Linked DNA regions of Homo sapiens: regions 1, 2, 3, 5 and 6 are each linked to region 4. Evidence: promoter capture Hi-C in 16 types of primary human blood cells and fetal thymus (Javierre and others, 2016). All regions are on one chromosome and are shown on one strand. The core of a region is centred on a gene start or on the middle of the fragment in contact, and the rest is flanking DNA. Distances in the headings are between cores, read along the strand shown. Region 1 has its middle 6.1 kb from the start of ATP13A4. Region 2 has its middle 16 kb from the start of OPA1. Region 3 overlaps ATP13A4 (ATPase 13A4). Region 4 holds the start of MB21D2 (Mab-21 domain containing 2). Region 5 overlaps OPA1 (OPA1 mitochondrial dynamin like GTPase). Region 6 overlaps ATP13A4 (ATPase 13A4).

Region 1 (3,193 bases), core at 360-2,859, 640 kb before region 4:
CACCCAGCTGACCAGTATGATTCTATATTTGAAATTGGTTTCACTGTATCTAGGGCCTGGGAGGCAAATGGCAAGGAGAACAGGGAACAGTGGCTAAAATCCCTAGTCTATGGACTCTTTTGTTTAAATATCCACCTATATATTACATCGCACACACAGATATTTCCCATTTTTACAAAAATGCCTGATGAATGCATTTAATAATATAGTGCATTTAATCATATAATAATAGCATTCTATAACAACTTGCAGTTAATGTATCGTGGACATCTTGCTATGACAATAGATCTACTTTATTCTTTTATTTTCCTTTTTATTTTTAAAGTAGTATAAGTACAACATAACCCACACTCATCAAAATGTAGTTTTTTTTTGTTTGTTTGTTTCCACCCCAGGGATTCAGGTTTGCTAGGTCTGGGTTTGGTAGCTCTCCGGGACCAGAGTATGTGGGGTCCAGGAGAGCTTCCAGGGTGACTGACACACACCACTGGTGAGGAACTACTGCTATTCTCTGCCATGTACTCTGGGGTCAATGAGATATGAACAAACAGAGCAACCAACAAAGCTTGCAGCTAGCCAACAGCAAAGCTCCCTGGTGCCAGAGAAAGGCTGGATGAAAGGAGGAGAGGATTGGACTCCATTTCCCGCGGAGGGAGAAGTACAGTGATGATCCCATGGTAGACATAGGTAGTCCGGTTGCGTGTTTCATAGGGGTGTGTAAAAAAGAGGCATGTGAAAAGACAGTGACAGCCCCCAAAGACCTCCATTGGGACAGAGATTAGATTGGAAGCTGGGGGGCTTATTTTAAAGTTACATTTGCATGGTAAGCACAGTTTTATTAAGATTGCTTATTTGAAGTGCTTTGGCAGGGTTGATGGACTGTGGGAGAGCTGAGAAACCTCAGAGATCCCCTCTGATGCCACACTAACTGGGAGAGGGTCTGAGTACTAGGAGGTGCATTAGTTCTATCTTATTACTTTCCTTTTTCCATTAGTAAATAACATTTCCCATTACCAGTTTGCTTAGGACACTGAACGACATGTACAGTACACAAATAAGAGCTCTGAATTTCTTTTGTCATTAATTTCAGTTTCACCCCTCTCTCAAAATATCATTGATTGATCCACTTGAGAGTCTCCTCCCTTTTGTGGAGCATCTTACTTGCTGATGAAAGAGGTAACCAGCATAAATAATCCTAAGTGGACTTTTGGAAGAATGGCAAGCAGAGAGGCCCAGTGGAGCCCCAGCCTTGCCGCTTTCTTCATCTGCACCAGGAACCTGTTCTTGATTTTCCCCAGGGGCCTCAGCCCAGTTCCTGGGTCATCCCAGGCCCACAGCAAGGGCACTGAATCCAGCCCAGCGTTGCTCTCTGCAGCTCAGCACCCAGCCACACTCTTGGTTAGTCTGCCCAGAGGCAGTGCCCTGATTCTGTTAATTGGGCTCTTGCCTCATTCCCAAGCCTGAGGTCCCCTGTGGGTACTACTGTTCCTAAGTTCCTGCCTGGCAGCCTGTCTTGAGCCCCAGATTTTTCCTAGGAGTGAAGAAGCCTTTCCCATGCCAGGCTCCCACTCGGAATTGGAACGCTGCCTCAGGCCCGAGGTTTCTGATTGGAGCTTAGCCACTAGAGGACAGACTCCATGGAGCCAGCTTCCTGTCTGGATTTCCAAGTATCACCTGCCCCATGGCTGGACTCTAACTGCTTGTTGGGAACATTTCTGCTTCTGTCTTATGGCCTTTCTCTCTTTCCCCCTTGGCCAACTGCTCCCCTGAGCTGTAAGCAGAAATTGCTGTGAGCTTCAATTGCCTGGTAGATTAAATTTCCTTTGCAAGCACCTGCAGTGTCATCAGCTCCCCAAGCACAGATTTTCACCCCAGTGGGTGGGCCCAATGCTATGTCCTAAGCCCTCTGGATCATGCCTAAGTAATGGGATGTGCTGTACAATTCAGTGATATGGCCATGGCTTTACACAATTGGTGGGTTCTGGAAAAGTTCTATTGAAATCTATGCTTGGCAAATGAAGTCCTCGTAAATATTCTAGAGATACTGTTTCAAAGTATCCTATTCTAATCCCTTTACAAAAAGTGAGTAGCAGCCGGGCATGGTGGCTGACACCTGTCATCCCAGCACTTTGGGAGACAGAGGTGGGTGGATGGCTTTTGCTCAGGGTTCAAGACCAGCCTGGGCAACATGTTTTTTGTCTTTACAAAAAACAAGAACAAAAATTAGTTGGGCATGGTGGCTCTTGCCTGTAGTCCCAACTGCTTGAGAGGCTGAGGTGGCAGGATCCCTTGGGCCTATGAGATTGAGGGTGCAGTGAACCATGATTGCACCTCTGCACTCCAGTCTGGGTGACAGAGCGAGACCCTGTCTCAAAAAAAAAAAAGTGAGTAGCAATATGATGTTGTGTGAAGTATATCATATATAAGACTTGAGAGTTTTAGCTTTCGCAGATTGTGATCTTGGACAAATCGTTACACAGTCATCCAGTAACTTTTTTCTCACCGAAGAAACAATGAAAGTAACTTAGTAATTTCTAAGGCCCAGTCTAATAGTCTCTGATTGTTAATAATAGCACCATAACTTGTATTGTTTTGTATATTCAAATTTTTAGGTTAAAAGTTCTCAAAATTAAGTACACTGACATGAAGCTTCTGCCTGGGGACCATCTCTTTTGGATTTTGTTTTTATAGGTTGTCCTTAATGACCTGGAATTGTTATAACAGCTGTCAACTGAGGTAAGCTTCACAGAAGGGGAGCTGCCTTACCTCCAGAGAGCAGCTTTTAATTTCCTATTTTTGGAAATAACAGAAAGCAAAGAGGACTCTTCTGAAAGGGAAACAACAGGCCACCCCAAGGCACTGGGAGAACAGACCTGGTGCTGAACGGGGATATTTGAGAGCAAGTCCTCTGAGAAGCAGAGACAGCATCAGCCTGCTCTTTTCTTCTGTAATTAATGGGGAGTCCCTGGATCTTTGTATTAGACCCTTTAATCTAAGGGTTGCTAAATGTTTTACAAACATTAATTAATTCAATTAGACTTTGCACCACCACCTTGAGGCAGGTAATTCCTCTTTGGGATATGGCATCTTTGCTTGCTACCACAGACTATTTTAGAGCAGATTAGGATAATTAATACTAAAGGTAAAGCCTTGAGTTTAGATAAAGTTCTATAACTAAAGGTCTCAAGTACTT
Region 2 (3,665 bases), core at 480-2,979, 660 kb before region 4:
AGAAGGAGGCTGCTGAGATGGGAAAGAGTGTCTTCAACTATTCCTGGGTATTGGATAAACTGAATGCTGAGTGTGAATGTGATATTACTCACCATTGATACCTCTGTTTGGAAATTTGAGACCAGCAAGTGACTATCGCTGTTGCCTTAGGCCACAGAGACTTTATCAAAAACGTGATTACAGGGACATATCAGGTGGGCTGTGTTGTCCTGATTATTGCTGCTGGTGTTGGCAACTTTGAAGCTGGTATCTCCAAAACCGGACAGACCTGTGATCATGCCCTTCTGCCTTACACACAGGGTGTGAAAAAACTAATTGTTGGAGTTGACAAAATGGATTCCACTGAGCCATCCTACAGTCAGAAGAGATAGGAGGAAATAATTAAGGAAATCAGCATGTACATTAAGAAAACTGGCTACAACCCAGCCACAATAGTATTTGTGTCAGTTTCTGGTTGGAATGGGGAGAATGTGGAGTTCTAATGTCCAAGCATAGGAGAAGATGGGTGTCCAGCTCCTGGGAGGAGAAAGAGGGAGAGGAAGAAAGAGAGAGAGACAGACAGACAGACAGACAGAGGGTATGTTCCTTTCCTCTCCCTTTTTGTTCTGTCCAGGAACTCAGTGACTGGATGGTGCATGCCCACACTGGGTGAGGGCAAATCTCCCTTACTCAGTTACTGCTTCAAAAACCCGTCTCTTTCAGAAACATCCTCATGGATATACCCAGAAGTGATGCTTTACCAACTGTCATGGTGTCTCTTAATCCAGTCAAGTTGACACACAAAATGAATCACCACACTCTCTATAATGGGAGAATGACCTAATTTTATTTTTCATACTGAGAGAACCACCAAAATGGCAGCAGTTGCTTCCCAGAAACCAACTAAGTGAAGGTGTAGAGTTAAAATTAAGTCTATTTAAATAAATGCAATAGATAGATAGATAGATATAGATATAGATATAGATATAGATATAGATATAGATATAGATATTTCTGAGATGGAGTCTCACTCTGTTGCACAGGCTAGAGTGCAATGGTGTGATCTTGGCTCACTGCAACCTCCGTCTCCTCGGTTCAAGTAATGCTCCTGCCTCAGCCTCCCGAGTAGTTGGGATTACAGCACACACCATCATACCTGGCTACTTTTTGTATTTTTAGTAGATACAGGGTTTCACCATGTTGGCCAGGCTGGTCTTGAACTCCTGACCTCAAGTGATCCACCCGCCTCAGCCTCCCAAGTGCTGGGATTATAAGAGTGAGCCACCGCACCTAGCCCAAGAAATGCAATATTTATTATGCACTTGAGTTTGCAGTCTGAAAGTTGAGAATTTACTCCATTAAAACATATTCTCTATTCAGAGAGAATGAAAGAGATTGAAGTGTTTTTAATTTTCAGAACTGTTTCATGGAAGTGTTAATAAAGCCTCACTGTTTGAAAGCACTGGAAGAAAAGGTTATCATGAGATACAGTCTTCTGTATGTTAGATTGCAACATAGAGATCTATTTGATAAAGGGTGGACTTGAAAATGAGTCCTACTTCATCAGCAAAGAAGTCTCCAGAATGACTGTGCTCTTGCACTCACCCTCCTGGTGCCTCAGGACTACAGGTTTAGAGCTTCCAGTTCCACTATAGCACAGTGTAGACAGTATGGTTTCCTAATAAAAAGTTTTCAGCAAAATGTAGTACAAATGCAATGTTAATTGTATACATTGTGTAATACAAATACAAAATACAATGTTCCATTTTGTACTTATATAAGTTCAGAGCAATGTATTCATTTTCTCAAGATCACAAAGTAGGTTCGTGGTATTGTTAGGTGTTCTGTGAGTTTTGAGCTGGATTTTAAAGGATGAATGTGAGATTTAGATAAAGAGAAGGTGAAAAGGCATCTCAGAAGAAAGAATGGTAAGAGTAAAGGTGCAGAAGAAAGAAAACCATTTGCCAAGTATACTTAGGGCTCAATAAGCAAATCATTTGCCTGGATAAGTAGTGGGAGTGACGACTGGAATATAGGTCCAGAACAGATCACAGAGTGCTTTGAATGATGTCAAATTATGTTTGGATTTGTTTTGAAAGCTAATTTATGCATAACTTCTTTGAAGGAAAGCACCATAATCCAAATAGGAAGTTACTCTACCAGTGGATGTGGTGTTGGTTATAGGTGGAAGACTAAAACCAGGAGGCCTCTTAGGAGGGCAATGTATTTATCCAAGTGTATTTTGACTTGGATTACTATTATGGAGTCAACAATGACCCTGAGGTTCTGAGCTTACGTGGCTGAGTTTTCACTCTCTCATGTTAAGGCTGAAAGATATTTATATGTTTTCAAAATGAAACTTTGAGGTCCTGCTTCTTTTTGCTTATTTGGAAGCATCCATTCTATCTTGATTGCTAGAACATTCAGGCTTCCTTTATTCCAGCAGTGTCTGTGCCAGTGGTGGAGGCACCGATATCTTCATGGACGATTCTGTAGAATGCTTTTATGAGTTGTTTTTTTCTGCTTAGCCTCCAGGTCGGGTTCTTCAACCCTTCCAGAGATTCTATGAGCTGCCCAGTATTACCTAATACATTCCTTTTCTGCTCAATTTCCCCAGAGTTAGTTTCTGTTACTTGCAATTAAGAACTTTAACTGATTAGTTTTTCTTATTTGATGCCGTAACCCAGAGGTTAATTAGAATCACCCTCTTCCCAATAATTTACATAAGATTGATTCAAGGCCGGGCGCGGTGGCTCACGCCTGTAATCCCAGCACTCTGGGAGGCCGAGGCGGGTGGATCATGAGGTCAGGAGATCGAGACCATCCTGGCTAACAGGGTGAAACCCCGTCTCTACTAAAAATACAAAAAATTAGCCGGGCGCGGTGGCGGGCGCCTGTAGTCCCAGCTACTCGGGAGGCTGAGGCAGGAGAATGGCGTGAACCCGGGAAGCGGAGCTTGCAGTGAGCCGAGATTGCACCACTGCAGTCCGCAGTCCGGCCTGGGCGACAGAGCGAGACTCCGTCTCAAAAAAAAAAAAAAAAAAAAAAAAAAAAAAAAAGATTGATTCAAGCCACATTCCATGGATCGTGGAAAGTCTAATGTCTTCTTCAAGATTCCTGTACATTCTGCAGGGGGCTTAGGCTCTCATGGACACCTTTGATTCAGATCTTTGGCTTCCTCTAAATCAGGATTCCTCAATCTTGGCACTATTGACATTTTAGGCTGGAAAATTCTTCCTTGCGGATGGCTAGCCTGTGCACTGCAGGATTCTTGACAGCATCCCTGGCTTCTGCCCACTTGGTGCCAGTTGCTGTCCTTCTTCCCTGCCCCATCCCAGTCCCCGTCCCAGTCAAGACAATCAAAAGTGCCTTAGGAAATTACCAGGTATTCCTTGGGGGACAAAATCACTTCTGGTTGAAAATCACTATGTCTAAATTAATTCAGTTTAGGAAATGGCATCTGTTATCCTTCTTCTCTACCAAGTCAACCTATGAGTGGAACTCAGATACTTAAAAAAACTTCCACCTAAATTTAAAAACAAAACAAAAATGTCACAAAAGTTATCTATACTGGTAGCAAACTTTGTGGAAATTTTGGAGAAATAGAGATTTTTCAGGTATTGTAGTAATTAATTAGAAAAACTGCACCAGGGACTGCTAATCTAATAGAGATTTTCCTGATGGAT
Region 3 (3,689 bases), core at 1,023-3,522, 540 kb before region 4:
CTGCAAAATATGTGTACATTTGTTCAAATATGTGAGCATCTTGAGAGCAGTCTTGTTCTTATTTAGATTTGCATCCTAAGTGCTGTAGCTCTGTACTAGGCACAAATAGTAGGTGCACAGTAATCGCTCATCTAAAATGAACTCAATATGTTCTGTCTTTTGAATGTTCTTCTTATTCCATTGACACCAAACTATTCATAAAACTTTGGAAACTTTGTTTCTAAAAGTGACTTGTTACATTTAAGGAATAACAATTAATATAATGTTTAGGTAAATGATTCATTTCCCTCCCTTCCTTCCTTCCTTCCTTCCTGCCTTGCTGCCTTCCTGCCTTCCAATCAAAGTTGAATTCCAATGATTAAAACAATTTAAAATAAAAAATGACAAATTTAATTAATAAAATGAAACAAAACAGAATTAATTCTAGGTAAGAAGTGAGCACCTGACTTATAGACTATTCAATACCTTCTTGTTAAAGGTGAGCTCATCTCTGATATTTCTTCCTTTCCAAAAAGCCCTGATTGTTGTGTCAGATACTTTAAGAACTATTAAAGGCTATCAGGGATTGATAACCAGAAATACTCAGATAAAAATGGGTGGACAGGAATGATAGAGAGCTTTATGTATTTGCTGTGCTAAACAGAGTCTGGCCCAATCCTCTCGAATGCAGAATTATACACTCAGAATTACGGACTAGTGACAGTGTACGTCTCATAGTAAAAATAAGATTTTTTTTCTGATCTGTATTTTGCTTTTCAGTGTGCGTTTAAGTTTCTGTGTTAACTGTCCTGCTGGTGGTCTCTTCCTTTTAGATATTTACTAAAATACCATTGGGTATGTGGTAAACCACCAAGATGAGCTGCTCTTTTAAGACATAGTAATAAGTATAACTAACAGGGTCAATATGAAGCCAGGACATTTTTGAACTCTTAGTGTGACAAAAGGAAGCTTGAATGCAAAAGCCAGGAAGCCATGTGGCTGAATTGTGAGTTAACACTGAGATGTGTTTGCTTTCAAAACAAAGGGCTACAGCAACTTAAGGTTATCTTTAAATAAATTCAGGGTCCATATTATCAGAAGTAATTGTCTGTCTTGAAATGTGGTCTCCAGGATCAGACAATGACAAATTTAGGAACTTTTCCAAAAAAGAAGAATAAGGAAGGTGAGAGGGAGGCCTGATCAAGCTGTTATTAGAGGAACAGCCGGAGGTTCCTGTGCGACACCAGAGGGAGAGAGGGTGAAGGGGACGGCAGAGTTGATCCCTAAGTTTGAAAGAAGTTGGCATGTGGAGGAGGGGGAGCAAGTGGACCCTTACTGGCTCCCAGGAGCAGATTCTGCCCCAATGTAGGATGAAGCTTCCACCGTTCAAACGTCCTCCTAATAGGGTAAGCTGCTTTGAGAACCAACGCCTGTGCTGCACATTTGAGAAGGGGCTGTGACTAACCAAGCTGCAGACAACATTCTTCTTGTGACGCCAAAGCTGAACTTAATGGCCTCCACTCTGAATTAGTGAAGGAAGCCTGCATATGACATTTGAGTTGTATTTTAATAGCTTTTTAGATGAGACTATGTTCTTATCTAAAATGAGATGATGGGGATAATGGTTGGGATATGGACACAAGAGGCCAGGGTGGAAGAGGGGGATGCAGTGTTCATTTGAAAAATGTTTTTAGCCGGGCACAGTGGCTCACGCCTGTAATCCCACCATTTTGGGAGGCCGACGCAGGTGGGTTAGCTGAGGTTGGGAGTTCAAGACCAGCCTGGCCAACATGGTGAAACCCCATCCTTGCTAAAAATACAAAAAATTAGCCTGACATGGTGGTGGCTGCCTGTAATTCCAGCTATTCAGGAGGCTGAGGCAGGAGAATCGCTAGAACCTGGGAGGCAGAGGTTGCAATGAATCGAGATCACGCCACTGTCCTCCTCCAGCCTGGGTGACAGAGTGATAGAGTGAGACCCTGTATCCAAAAGAAAAAGAAAAAACTCAGAGACCTTTCTCATACTCAGTGAACTTACTTGGCTGAATGAAGCACTATTAATGTGGGAGGATTGGAGAGTGGCTATTAATGCAACAAAGCATATTAAATTATTTTTTTATAAAGATGTTTGTTCACCTCCAAGATGCTCTGTTTTGGCATGAGGCGATGGAATGGAAACCCATTTCCTTTTCTCCTTAAGCTTTCAGGAAGTTCACAGCTTTGCCTCAGGCCAGGCTTTGCCATGGGGCCCACTGTGTGCAGCGATGGCCAGCTGCCACTCTCTGATCCTTCTTGATGGGACCATCCAGGGAGACCCTCTGGACCTCAAAATGTTTGAAGCCACCACCTGGGTAAGCCTCTGCTCTTCAGAGAATCTGAGAAGCTTCTTCAATGCCAGAGCAACATAGGCAATATCAGAGCTATCTAATTCTTATAAAAGGTGAGGTTTCCAATGTGGAGTACATTTGGTAGTGAAGGGCAAACCAATCTAAGGCTGGTTTCCTCATCTGTGCAATGAAGCTAATAATAGCATCTACATAATGAGATTGTGAGGATTAAATGAGATGATGCAGTAAGAAAATCCTTGGCACTATGCCTGGCAAATATTAAAGGTTCGATCATATTAATATAATTGTACTTATTATGCAGTTATTTCTTGTCTCTCTGTACTGTTCTCCGAGCATTGTCTGGTTTCGAAGATTTTCCAGAATATGGGGATCAGAAAACATTGCTTTCTCCAGTGCTCAGGATAACTCATAGATTCACGGGGACTATAAGTCTTATTTCTATTAATTTCATATTGATTTTATTTCCAAGACTAGAAAGAACAAAAAGGAAAACCACTAAAGAGCTTTTGTTGAGACTCTAAACTAGATTTAAGAGCCAACAGTGTCGTTCAGGAATCTGGCTTTTCCGATTCTAGTTTTGTCTCTGCTCTAACTGACTGCTGAATCCCATTAAGCTATCTCTCATGTTGGGGCTTTGGCTCTCATGACCATAAAATGAAGTTGAATTAGACCAGTGGTGTTCACATAACACAAAACAAGACAAACAATCTGGAATCTTCTCGTAAAAGGAAACGTTCTCCAGAAACACTCTAAAGACTAAATAGCTGGAGTTACTCCAGTTGAAATAAAAGGTGGGATCTAAAGATGAGGACTAAGGGACCTGCATCCCTGACTACTTAGCTATAATCCCTTCCTTTCTCCTGAGCTGCATATAGCTCTCGCCTCTGGTGGCACACTTTGAGCACCACTGAAAGAGACAATCTTCAGGGTCCCTTCCAAATCTCCTGGAGCATTATTTCATAGCAATCTAATATAACTTTGCCAATCCTCCATCTTTTCTGGGTTACTGATTCCATATCTTTAAATAGGGATTGCAGTTTTCTCTCTGGGACCTTGTCAGCCACTCAGTGAGATGATTACAAAGCACTGTGTTGTCTTTGGGTAAAAGGTCCCTTTGACTATAATTTAGGGTCATTATTATAGCAATTACTGATTATTAACCATGTATATCACAGTCTCTGCCCTGCCCTACCCCAGCCCTGAGAACCATCCATCCAAATTAGACACACATGCAAGGGCAGGAAGAGCCGTGAAGTGCAGGAAAAGAACGACAGAAAGGTGCTTGCTTCACACAAAAGAAGTCTGGCCCTTCATGTGCATGGCTTTCAAGCTAGGCTCTTCAGAAATGGAGACTGAGCCTTTA
Region 4 (3,510 bases), core at 440-2,939:
GCAGACGCGGATTGGTTTTGGTGTAAACGGAGTAAAGAAGAGAGGAATTCCAGGGGGAGGTCAGTGGTCAGGTCTGTGTTTTCTAAAGATCACTCTGGCAACAAGTTGTTACTAGATTGAGGAACAGTGAAAGAATTAATAACAATAATAGTAGAAGCTGATAATAGCTAAGTACTTATTATGTCAGTCCTTGAACTAAGTGCTTGACCTGTTTTATCTCACGTAATCCTTAAAACAACCTGTGAGACAGGAATTATTATTCCCATTTTATAGGGGAAGGCATGGAAGAGTCCGTACTTCCTTCCATGTCTAACAAAACAATTTGTATTCTTGGCCATGAGAACTCGGGTAAGAAAGTGAAACAGACCTGATCTAAATCAGGGACTGTGGGATAGAGAAGAGAGATTTTGGAGAATTAGGGAGGAAGATAACCTATGTTTCTCACAGCCAATGGGCCTCCTAAGTGTTTGAATGATACACCCCATAAACACTAAAACCACCTCTGAGACTCTATTCTGCCTAAAGGACTATGACTTAGATTGAACCTGCCTTGTCATGTAAGCCTAACTCCATGGTAGGAGCCATGTCTTTTGGTTATCACTGTCACATTCTGTCACTCCATCTGGCAAATGGTGCGTACTCAAATTTTATCTGTTGAATGAGAAAATTTTCATCTTGTCATCCAACATTTCTTGGAACCTGGGGCAATACATTGTTTCCCCTCTCCCACACCCACACTTCAGTTTCCCTATCTTTATATTAGAGTAGGTTGAATCTCATTAACTCATTATATGTTAAGATAAATAAGCTGTTATTCAGGTCATTAATTACCTTGGGCAAAGGTAGGGATATCTAGGGGTTAGTGGGAGTGCCAATACTGGGTTAGATGTGGACCCTCTTTTTTTATACGCTCAATCCTATCATCTTGGCAATCCAAGAGGAAAAGGGTAGAAGACAGGTTTCATATTCCTTAAGGCAGTTTCCTTTACTATTTAAAGGTATTGGAGTTCTTGGGATAGAGAGGTAAACGCGCACAGAGATGTCCTCCCCCAGGACACCGCCCTTAAAATCAAACGGAGGAAGACTTTCTTCTCCTTGAATGCGCTTGGCAAACCCTGCCCAGAAAGGGGATGGGGGGACGGCCGTGGAGGTGGAGAAAGAATGCATCCACACCTCGCGCGTCTTCCCAAGTACGGATTGGCAAGTGGTATATGCGTGCAGACCTCTGTCATTTATTTATTTTCCTTTCCACTGGGTGCGCTGTCCCTTTAAATGGAGACGCTGGTGCTGGCTCCGTAACACCGGAGCCGGCAGCTTGTTGATTTCAGAGCTGGTGAATTTCACATTGTTTCCACTTCACTTTCCTCGCCCGGGGGAGGCTCCAGTTGGCTCTACGACCGCCGTTGCCGCTGCCAGAGAGGGCCAGGGCAGGGCAGGGACGCGCAGCATCGGGGCGGGCGTGGGGCCGGAGAAAAGGGTGTCGGGGCCACACACGCACCCTCGCTGCAGTCCAGCTCCTCCCGAAGCTCGCACGCCCAGAGCGCACGGAGCGGGGGACTGCCCGCCCAGACGCCCGCCCGCCAACCCGCCCACGAGCCGGGGCCAAAGCCTGGGAGCCTGCGAGGGGAGGAGGCCCAGGGGGGCGGGGTGGGGGGCGGGGGTGGGTGCCGCGCTGCCGCGGAGCTGCTACTCGGCGCGTTTTGCATGAAGATGGCGGCTCCCACCGCCAACAAGGCAGCCTCCCTGGGCTGTAACAACAAGCCTGCGTTCCCGGAGCTGGATTTCAGGTCGGGAGCTCGGGTGGAGGAATTGAACAAACTCATCCAAGAATTTACGAAGCACGACCAGCGGGAATACGACGACCAGAGAGCGCTGGAGATTCACACAGCCAAGGATTTCATCTTTTCCATGCTGGGTAAGGAGGAAAAAGGGGGAGGTGTGTGTGCGTGTGTGTGTGTGATGGGAAGCGGAGTAGAAAACCCATTGCCGCTTCTCGACCTCTTCCCTTCTGGGTTGCCTTCCCGAGCCGGTGCCTTGGGTATAAGCCATCTCTGTTCCGCCTCTCTCTTCTTTCTCCGCCGAAAGCCGAGCTGCCTGCCCTCCCCTCCTTACTATACTTTACGCCGGGTCTCCCTTTCCCCCTGTTCGCTTGCTCTTTTGTTAATTTCTCCGCCACCTGGGGCTGGCAGGCAGGTGAGGCGTTCGCGGTGAAGCGTTGCACTGTTGGGGGAAGCCCCTGGAAGCGAGTGCAGTCCAGGTGAGCCCCTGAGGTGCCTTCAGTTGAGGGATTTGGCTGCCGGAGGCAGGGACCTCCGCTTTCCCGACGCCGGCTCTTGGGTGCTCTCCCGAGCTTGGGAGCGGAGACGGCTCAGGGCTCTGGCTTGGCGCCCGAGCGACAAGTTGCTTCTGTCGTCTCGCGGCGCGGCGCTGTCATGCCGAGCCCCCGGTGGCCAAACTTGTTGGGTGTTCCCGAGTAACCCGCTGAAGTAGTCTAGGCGTCCGGAGTTCCTGCAACTTTGATTTGCAAATTGACTTCTCTTATGAAGCGATCGGAAGCATTTCCGGTGCTTCTTCAGGGCTCTCGCTGAGCTCGGAATTCTTAATTCCCAGCTCTTCCGTGACTAGGCGCGGAGCTCTGGCCGCAGAGGAGCGCCGGTTCCCTGCTCTTTGTGTATTGTCTTAGCGCTGGCCGAAAGAGGTGCCCAGAGTTTCCAACCGCGGAGACGTCGGGGGCTAGAAAATGTGTCCCCCACTCCCACCTCCAGCCCCTCACCTACGGCTCCTGAAACATGATTGAATGCTGTGTAAAGGAACATAATTGAGCCAGGCCCGGGAGACCGAGCCCACCCTCCCCAGGTGTCCTGCCGTTGGGATTATTGCTACTGAGGTGTAGTGTGAGTTTGCCAGGCGCCTGGGTTGTAACTTGCGGCTCCGCCAGCGGATCCGTGGCTGTCAAGCGGTGCGTGGCCGGCGGTCAACATTCCGAAGAACTGGTACTCCAGGGTAGCGCTGCTCTAACGCTCGTCTCTGGGTGCTCTCTACAAATAGATAAGCCAATTTTCCAGGTGTTGAAAAATTTGATTGGGAAAGGTCTTTTGGCCACAGACTAAGACAGGGCTTTTCTCTTTCTCCTGCAATCTAATTGGGTTTCAGCCGGCTGTTGCTGCTTCTATCCTGGGATACCTTCTTCCTTCTAGGTTTTCTTCTTCCTCACTGCCCAAGGACGGGGTAATACAGACTGAACGTGTCTGTGTCCGCTGGTAGTTGTTCACGCGTTGGGAAGTTAGATGAAACATGTTAAAACTCTAGGCTGGTTTTTACCTTTTGCGCCGCACTCTTCAAGTGTGTCTTACGTTGCGTATGAGGTTGAAAAACTATTGAGAGATTCAGCCGTTCAACTATGTAGATGAATAGATGAATTAAATATATATATATATATATATATAAAACCTGGTAGGAGTGAGCTTCCACAGGGAAGCCTAAAATGCTTACAAAGCCAAAAGCCAACAC
Region 5 (3,582 bases), core at 1-2,500, 700 kb before region 4:
AGTAACGATATCTCTACTTGGATGTTTTTGTATTTGCTTCTCAGATGTTATCATTTTAAAATCTTCCAAAGAAGTAAAAACTTTAAAAAATCTTTCAAGACTACCTACATGAACAATTCTCTTTTACACTTACCTTTCTAAAATGCTTGTCACTTTCAGATCCACGATCTGTTGCTCTAAACGCCGTTTCTTCCGGAGAACCTTAAAGATAAATATGCAACCCTTTACATTCTCCAGTGATGTCAACAGCCTAAGCTGAATTTCAAATTACATCGAGTCAATGAAAAGGTGAATGGATTTTTAGAGCAACTCAGATTCAAAGAATCAAATCGCCTTTATTCTTATTTTAAGGAACATGACTGATAACCTGTGCAGAAAATAAAAAAAAAACTAACTATAGCAATCGCAGCATATGTTTAACCTAACAATTAAAAATATATAACTGAAAATTACAATAAAAAAATAAGACAATCTTTGGTAAGGATTATTTTACATGAGAGTACTTACAGTTCAGCCACATACCACTGGCATTACAGACCATGTATAGCAGGAAAACAATTTTTTTTTCTTTTCTTTTTTTTTTTGGGGGTGGGGGGCAGAGTCTCCCTCTGTCGCCCAGGCTGGAGTGCAGTGGCGCGATCTTGGCTCACTGCAACCTCCGCCTCCTGGGTTCAAGCAATTCTCCTGCCTCAGCCTCCCGAGTAGCTAGGACTACAGGCGTGTGCCACCACGCCCGGCAAATTTTTTGTATTTTTAGTAGAGATGGGGTTTCACCGTGTTAGCCAGGATGGTCTCGATCTCCTGACCTCATGATCCGCCTGCCTTGGCCTCCCAAAATGCTGGGATTACAGGCATGAGCCACCGCGCCCGGCCGGAAAACAAATTTAAATGTCAACCATGACAGGGCAGATGAGACAAACTAAAATTACTTTTCATTTCAATTATCAAAAACAATTAGATCTATTTCAAGAAAATATTTTTGCTAAGTAAATTTTCTTTTAATAGCTTTAATCTTATAATACACATACATATTTAAGAATTTTAGTGTTATCACAAAATAATTATTTTATTATTTCCACCTAAAGGATAATGAGTTTGCCTAATATAGTTCTGGGGTTTTAAAATTCAGCATAAGCAGCATTATAAATTTGGTCTGCAATTTTATTTGCAACTAGTTTATTAGAAGCATTTAAAAGGCATGTTAAGGTCAGCAAAAATGTCTGTTTACACACCTAACAAGAGAAGTAGGTCAGAAGCTCCTATGACTTCACTAACCAATTTGTGACCTGTGAAAAATCAGCAAAAGGGGAAATAGAAATGTAAAATTTAACAGAAATGAGCAAACAAAGATGTCTGAGATCTCAGATTTCATATTACGATAGGGCAATAATTGGGCAAATATGCCAGGATTAAACTTAATAAATGCTACTCATTATGGTCTATCATACTTAAATTTGTTTTAAAACCACCAAATTGGTCCAACCACTTATGAAAAGCAAATACATAGGAAGTCTCATCTACTTGTCAAGAACAAGTGATACATTTTTTCCCCTCACTAAAAGCCAAGTATGTTTAAGTGCTTAGGAACTGTCATTTTACTGGGCTACACAAAGATTAAAACCATTGTGTAACAAAACTTTGTGTTTATCTTTTTAAAAAATGTCCTGTTTTTCATTGGTACTAAATATTTTAATTTTAAAAAAATGGGAATAAACAAATAATCCATGTATTTTTCCTCCATGGTTCTTAAATTTTTAAATTAGATCAAACAGCTTCTTCCTTACCTGAGGTAAAAAAGTCCTTCAATAAGCTAAGGCTTTCAACAATCTTGTCAAAGTCTGGTGCTAACTTTACAAGGTCTTCTGAACTAGGAAGGGCTTTTCTAATTTTCTCTGGAAAAGATCAAAACATATAGAGTATGAAACTAAGAAAATATGTCAGATACTATTCTTATAAAGGGCTAAAGTATTAACTTGTTTAATCCTCATGACAACCCTACAAAACAGCTACTATTATCAACACCATTTACAGATGAGAAACTAAGGTACACAGCAAGGAAGTGGAGGAGCCCGGGTTCCAGCCCAGGCAGTCCAGCTCCAGAATACAGGCTCTCAGCCACTACGCTGTGGTACTGGCAAATACATCAATTTGAAAGCTCTCCTCATTAATATTAGAAGAACAATTTGAAAGTGTGCTTTTTTTGCAAATGGATTCGTCAACATAGAACAGTTTTATCTTTATAAATTCTGTGAATAAGTGCAAGTATAGATTAATTCCACCTCCACATACACCTAAACTAAGAAATCTGACAAAGGTTTTAAAAAAATTTGATGAAAATATATTTCTTAAAGATCACCATGAATTACTGGCAATCATAGCGATCCAATATACTTTTTTCTCATCCACCTATTGAAAAAGGGAGGGCAGTGGCCAACTAAGAAAAGAAATTACCCTGGATACTAACAGACTTTTAAAGAACTTGGCTACAAAAGGTAGAGATAACCAAGGTATCCAATCAAAAGGAGCTAGCTAGGTGGGTCACAATAAATATGCTCTGGGCAACATTACATAATGCAGAAAATGATATTATTAATAGAAAGGCTACTTGGCAGCATGGAAATGCTGACAAAATATGTTAGGTAGCAAAAGACAAAATACCAAAGTGAATATTCACCATGATTACATAATTTTTAAAAAGGGAACTAAAATACTATTCTGTGGTAGTATTCATGAAAAGAAAAAAATTAAAAGAAAAAAACTCAAGCCAGGCATAGTGGCTCACACTTGTAATCTCAGTGCTTTGAGAGGCTGAGGTGAGAGGTTTGAGCTAAGGAATTTGAGACTAGCCTGGGCAACATAGTGAGACTTCATCTCTACAAGAAATTAAAAAATCAGTCGGGCATGGTGGCACACACATGTAGTCCCGGCTACTTGGGAGGCAGAGTCGGAAGGACTACTTTAGCCAGTTCAGGGCTGCAGTGAGTTATGATTCCAAGACCGCACTTCAGCCTGAGTGACAGAGCAAGATCCTGTCTCAATCGATAAGTTAAAAAGATACTAACCACATATAGTAAGTATAATTAAAAGAAAATGCTCCAAACAGTTAGTGGCAGCTGTGGTAAAATTATGGGCTACTGGGTATTTCTTTTATACAGATTTTTTCATTGATATTCTATTACTTATATCATTAAAATAAAACCGTGATATATTAGGTTCATAAGTTAAGAAACTATCTCAATAAACTATTTCTCTTTCCTCGAGATGACCAAAAAAAGTATTTTAATGTTCATGATACAAACCAAAATCGATATACTCATCAATTTCCCACACAATGTCAGGCACAATCCATTTATATTCACTAAGGTCCGGTATCATATCTTTCCACTGATCAAAAGTCTAAAAGACAAGAAAGTGTGTCAATCAGATGCTCTGCATGCCAAATAAACATGTAAAGAAAAATTATTTAATTAAAACACATTAATCTACTAAGAATAATGTATTATGTTCAAAACTTTTAAGAAACAAAATTAAGTGGTCTCAGCAAACAAGCATATAAAACAAGTTAACACTCCTCTGTTAAAT
Region 6 (3,168 bases), core at 593-3,092, 580 kb before region 4:
TTGAGTATCCTGATGATTTAGAGGAGAGATCACCCAGAGTAATTAGGGAGGTTCTCAGGACATAAACTCTGAGCTGGACCCTGAAGGATGGTAGAATCCAGCCATGTAAAGACTTAAGGAGAAGAGAGAAGAATGTGTACTACAGGCTAAGGAAGCAGCAGGAGCAAAGGCATACAGACGGTCTTCTCTTAGGAGGATGAATATAAGAGATTAGCTACAATGATTGTATCTTCCCCTCTCTGCCTTTTGCAGAGTCAGCTAGGGCACTCTTCATAGCAAAAATGGGTGTGGTGGTGGAGACAATTTCCAGCTCTGACCTACATTTCCCAAGCATCAAATTTTTCCCACGTTTGACTTTTTCTGTTATACTTCTTGAATCCTGAGGTTTGTCAGTCATCTGAGTGGGTTTTATGTTTAGTATTTCCCTATTCAGACAATAACCACTGTCAAATAGGTCTCTAAGGGACCATTGTGGTATCTGTTTCTCAATCCTGTGCTTCTCCCTCTAATTTTACTCTGTGTGAAGTAATCAGTGAACTGCAAATGGAAGCAATTTTAATTAGGGTCATGCAATAAGGTGCCTTCTTCAACCCCACCTGTGCTAACATCTTGGCAATTACCTTGGGCAGGTTCAGTCCATGGATTCAGTTTTTTTCTTCCATTCTTCAGACTCTGACTGAGCAGGTCTCAGTGCTCCACATGAATGGGAGATAAGGAACAATAAAACGTGATCCCTGCATTCCAGGTAGTCTAGAAGGACTAGAAAAAGTGATTAAGAGCACAAGAGAGGGACACTTAACATTTTTTTGGAGTTAACAAAGTGATAGTTCCCCCCCCTGCCCCGCCCCGGTGGAAGGGTGTTAATGAGGCTGTTCTGTAGGAGGTGGAATTTGAGTTAAGCCTTGAAAGATGGGGATGGTCATCAGGTCATGGGCTGAAAGGTGGTTGAAAGGTGATGCAGTGAACTAGTTCTTACCTGCGAATGAGCCTCCTGATTCTCAAGCTTTGTTATGTGTCAGTGCCTCATCTTCATATCCAGATTCCTCAGTCAGTGATGACAGGTCTTTTTCCCTCAAGGTTCTAGATCCATCATCTTTCAGAGACAAACCGTTCTGTCTAGAATATTCACTAACGCCAAACACTTACAGAATTATATTAAAATGATGTTTCTCAGGTTGAATTGTAGCCTGCTGACCTCTCTTAACTTCTTGGGGGTTTTGATGTCTATCTCCTCAGGATGAATTCCAAATTTACTCTTGGAAAAAGGTAATATGGATCTACCTGTCAGCATTAAACAGCGCATTTGGTCTCACTCCTGACCACCCTCTCATGACAGATGAGGAGTATATCATAAATAGAGCCATAAGAAAGCCAGACCTAAAGGTAAGTAAACTTATGGCTACTGCTGATGTCAGAGAGATTTAATCTTTTTCCCCTCAAGTATATAGTTAAATGTAGCTCCTCTACTGTGCCAATCCTCATTTGATAGTGTATATTTAAAATGTGAACTTTGGAGCCAGACAGTCCAAATCTCAGCTTGCTCCTTCTAAATAGCGCAACCATTGATCTTAACTCTGCTGAGCCTGTTTTCTCATCTACAAAATGATGATAATAATGTCTATTTCTAATATTAATTGATAAAATTCAATAAATTTAGAAATACAAAGATTAAAGTAGTTCCAGGTATATAGCAGATGCTCAATACATACTCGCTCTATTTTCTTTTCCTTTTGTTAGAGGTAGGATCTCACTATGTTGCCCAGGCTGGAGTGCAGTGGCTATTCACAGGTGCATGATTATAATACACTACAGCCTCAAACTCCTGGGCTCAAGTGATCCTCCTGCCTCAGCCTCCCTAGTAGCTGGGATTGCAGGCATGTACCGCCCAGCCCAGCTCTTACATATTAGCTCTAATAGTATCGTTCCCCATATTACAATCTATGTAACAGGGTTAATCTTATAGTAAAAGTAATCACCCAGGAATATCCCAGGAGGTTTGCTTATGCCTACAAAAATGACCTTATTTGAATTCTTGTCATTCAAATGTATTTGGGTTGCTCCCTCTTCACCCTATTAAATTAGTTCTGCTTGGATTATGACTAGTTAACATTCATATTAAAAACATTTTATAAGACAGAATGTTTTGTCTTACATTTATGTATGTGTGGTCAGCTGTTTAAATTAGTTTTATGAGCTCAAGTTCAGTTATTTAAAGTAATAAAGTAAATTATGAGCAATTTTCCTATTGTCAATTGTTATCACCCAGTTGTCTTTTTTTTTTTTTTTTTAAATGGAGTTTCACTCTTGTTGCCCAGGGTGGAGTGCAATGGCGCTGTCTTGGCTCACTGCAACCTCCACCTCCCGGGTTCAAGCAATTCTCCTGCCTCAGCCTCCAAAGTAGCTGGGAATACAGGCACCTGCTACCACACCCAGCTAATTTTTGTGTTTTCAGTAGAGACGGAATTTCACCATGTTGGCCAGGCTGGTCTTGAACTCCTGACCTCAGGTGATCCACCAACCTCAGCCTCCCAAAGTGCTGGGATTATAGGGGTGTGCCACTGCACCCCACCCACTCAGCTGTCTTAGCTGCCCAAATAAACAAAAACAAAGGAGGTCAAGTACCTCCAAATAATAGTTTCCCTAATCTGTTAGATGTCCATTCACCTGGAGAAATAAGCTTCCCAGATAGCCTATGTTCTCATAGTTTTATTGCTCTGAAATTCTAGCATCTTTAGTAGCATCAAATAAATAAGTGGACAGATAAATGAAGAAATGGCCAAGTCAACACACAGAATTGTAGGAGGGGCAGAGGTCTTGAAATGGAAAGTTGTGATAGGTGTACTATCTTCATTTACCAGCTACGGCATAGGCAGTTTGGTTAGTTACTGCCTCTCTGGTCTTGAGTTTCTTATTTATAAAATAAAAGTAATACCCCTTCTTTGCCTTTCTCAGGGCTGTTATGAACACACAATGAGACGATGGATATTAAGGTCATTTGTGAACTTCAATGAGCTATGCTAGTAACAAAACTTTCCTTAAAGTCAGAGGAGCTGTCATGGGCTCAGCCTTGATGACAATAACAGCATTACCAAGAGGGTAACCATTTAGGGGCATTTAAAGGAGGGGTCCCCAATCCCCAGGCCACCGATTGGTGCCCTGTCCATGGCC

Evidence for each region. The method cuts DNA at HindIII sites, captures the fragments that hold promoters and counts their contacts. A CHiCAGO score of 5 or more calls a contact.
Region 1: a contact is called between a fragment that was not itself captured here and the fragment with the promoter of MB21D2 in region 4, in 3 of 17 cell types (M1 macrophages, M0 macrophages and endothelial precursors). The highest score is 8.4, in M1 macrophages.
Region 2: a contact is called between a fragment that was not itself captured here and the fragment with the promoter of MB21D2 in region 4, in 3 of 17 cell types (M1 macrophages, M0 macrophages and monocytes). The highest score is 7.8, in M1 macrophages.
Region 3: a fragment that was not itself captured here is called in contact with the fragment with the promoter of MB21D2 in region 4 in 1 of 17 cell types (M0 macrophages); the score reaches 5.9 in M0 macrophages.
Region 5: a fragment that was not itself captured here is called in contact with the fragment with the promoter of MB21D2 in region 4 in 3 of 17 cell types (M0 macrophages, monocytes and M1 macrophages); the score reaches 6.3 in M0 macrophages.
Region 6: a contact is called between a fragment that was not itself captured here and the fragment with the promoter of MB21D2 in region 4, in 1 of 17 cell types (monocytes). The highest score is 5.9, in monocytes.

What each region holds. Positions count from the first base shown.
Region 1 is chr3:193,559,406-193,562,598 of GRCh38, reverse strand. It overlaps a transcript of ATP13A4 not described here. Among named protein-coding and RNA genes, the nearest start is that of ATP13A4, 6.1 kb to the right of the region's middle. The HindIII fragment of the contact is 2,084 bases long and covers 568-2,651 here.
Region 2 is chr3:193,575,623-193,579,287 of GRCh38, reverse strand. It overlaps a transcript of ATP13A4 not described here and the pseudogene EEF1A1P23. Among named protein-coding and RNA genes, the nearest start is that of OPA1, 16 kb to the left of the region's middle. The HindIII fragment of the contact is 6,578 bases long and covers 1-3,665 here.
Region 3 is chr3:193,457,721-193,461,409 of GRCh38, reverse strand. It overlaps ATP13A4 (ATPase 13A4), which reads left to right. Exons shown (of 30, transcript NM_032279.4): 14 at 2,179-2,329. Among named protein-coding and RNA genes, the nearest start is that of ATP13A5, 81 kb to the right of the region's middle. The HindIII fragment of the contact is 183 bases long and covers 2,181-2,363 here.
Region 4 is chr3:192,916,035-192,919,544 of GRCh38, reverse strand. MB21D2 (Mab-21 domain containing 2) reads left to right here and starts at 1,689. Exons shown (of 2, transcript NM_178496.4): 1 at 1,689-1,915. The coding sequence starts at 1,705. RefSeq lists a silencer at 1,384-1,743 and an enhancer at 2,394-2,723. The HindIII fragment of the contact is 3,892 bases long and covers 1-3,510 here.
Region 5 is chr3:193,615,488-193,619,069 of GRCh38, reverse strand. OPA1 (OPA1 mitochondrial dynamin like GTPase) reads right to left here. Exons shown (of 31, transcript NM_130837.3): 3 at 3,300-3,396; 4 at 1,785-1,892; 5 at 1,233-1,286; 6 at 134-201. It overlaps OPA1-AS1 (OPA1 antisense RNA 1), which reads left to right. Exons shown (of 3, transcript NR_046634.1): 3 at 160-471. Among named protein-coding and RNA genes, the nearest start is that of OPA1-AS1, 10 kb to the left of the region's middle. The HindIII fragment of the contact is 5,969 bases long and covers 1-3,582 here.
Region 6 is chr3:193,500,708-193,503,875 of GRCh38, reverse strand. It overlaps ATP13A4 (ATPase 13A4), which reads left to right. Exons shown (of 30, transcript NM_032279.4): 3 at 1,237-1,383. Among named protein-coding and RNA genes, the nearest start is that of ATP13A4-AS1, 51 kb to the left of the region's middle. The HindIII fragment of the contact is 1,674 bases long and covers 1,006-2,679 here.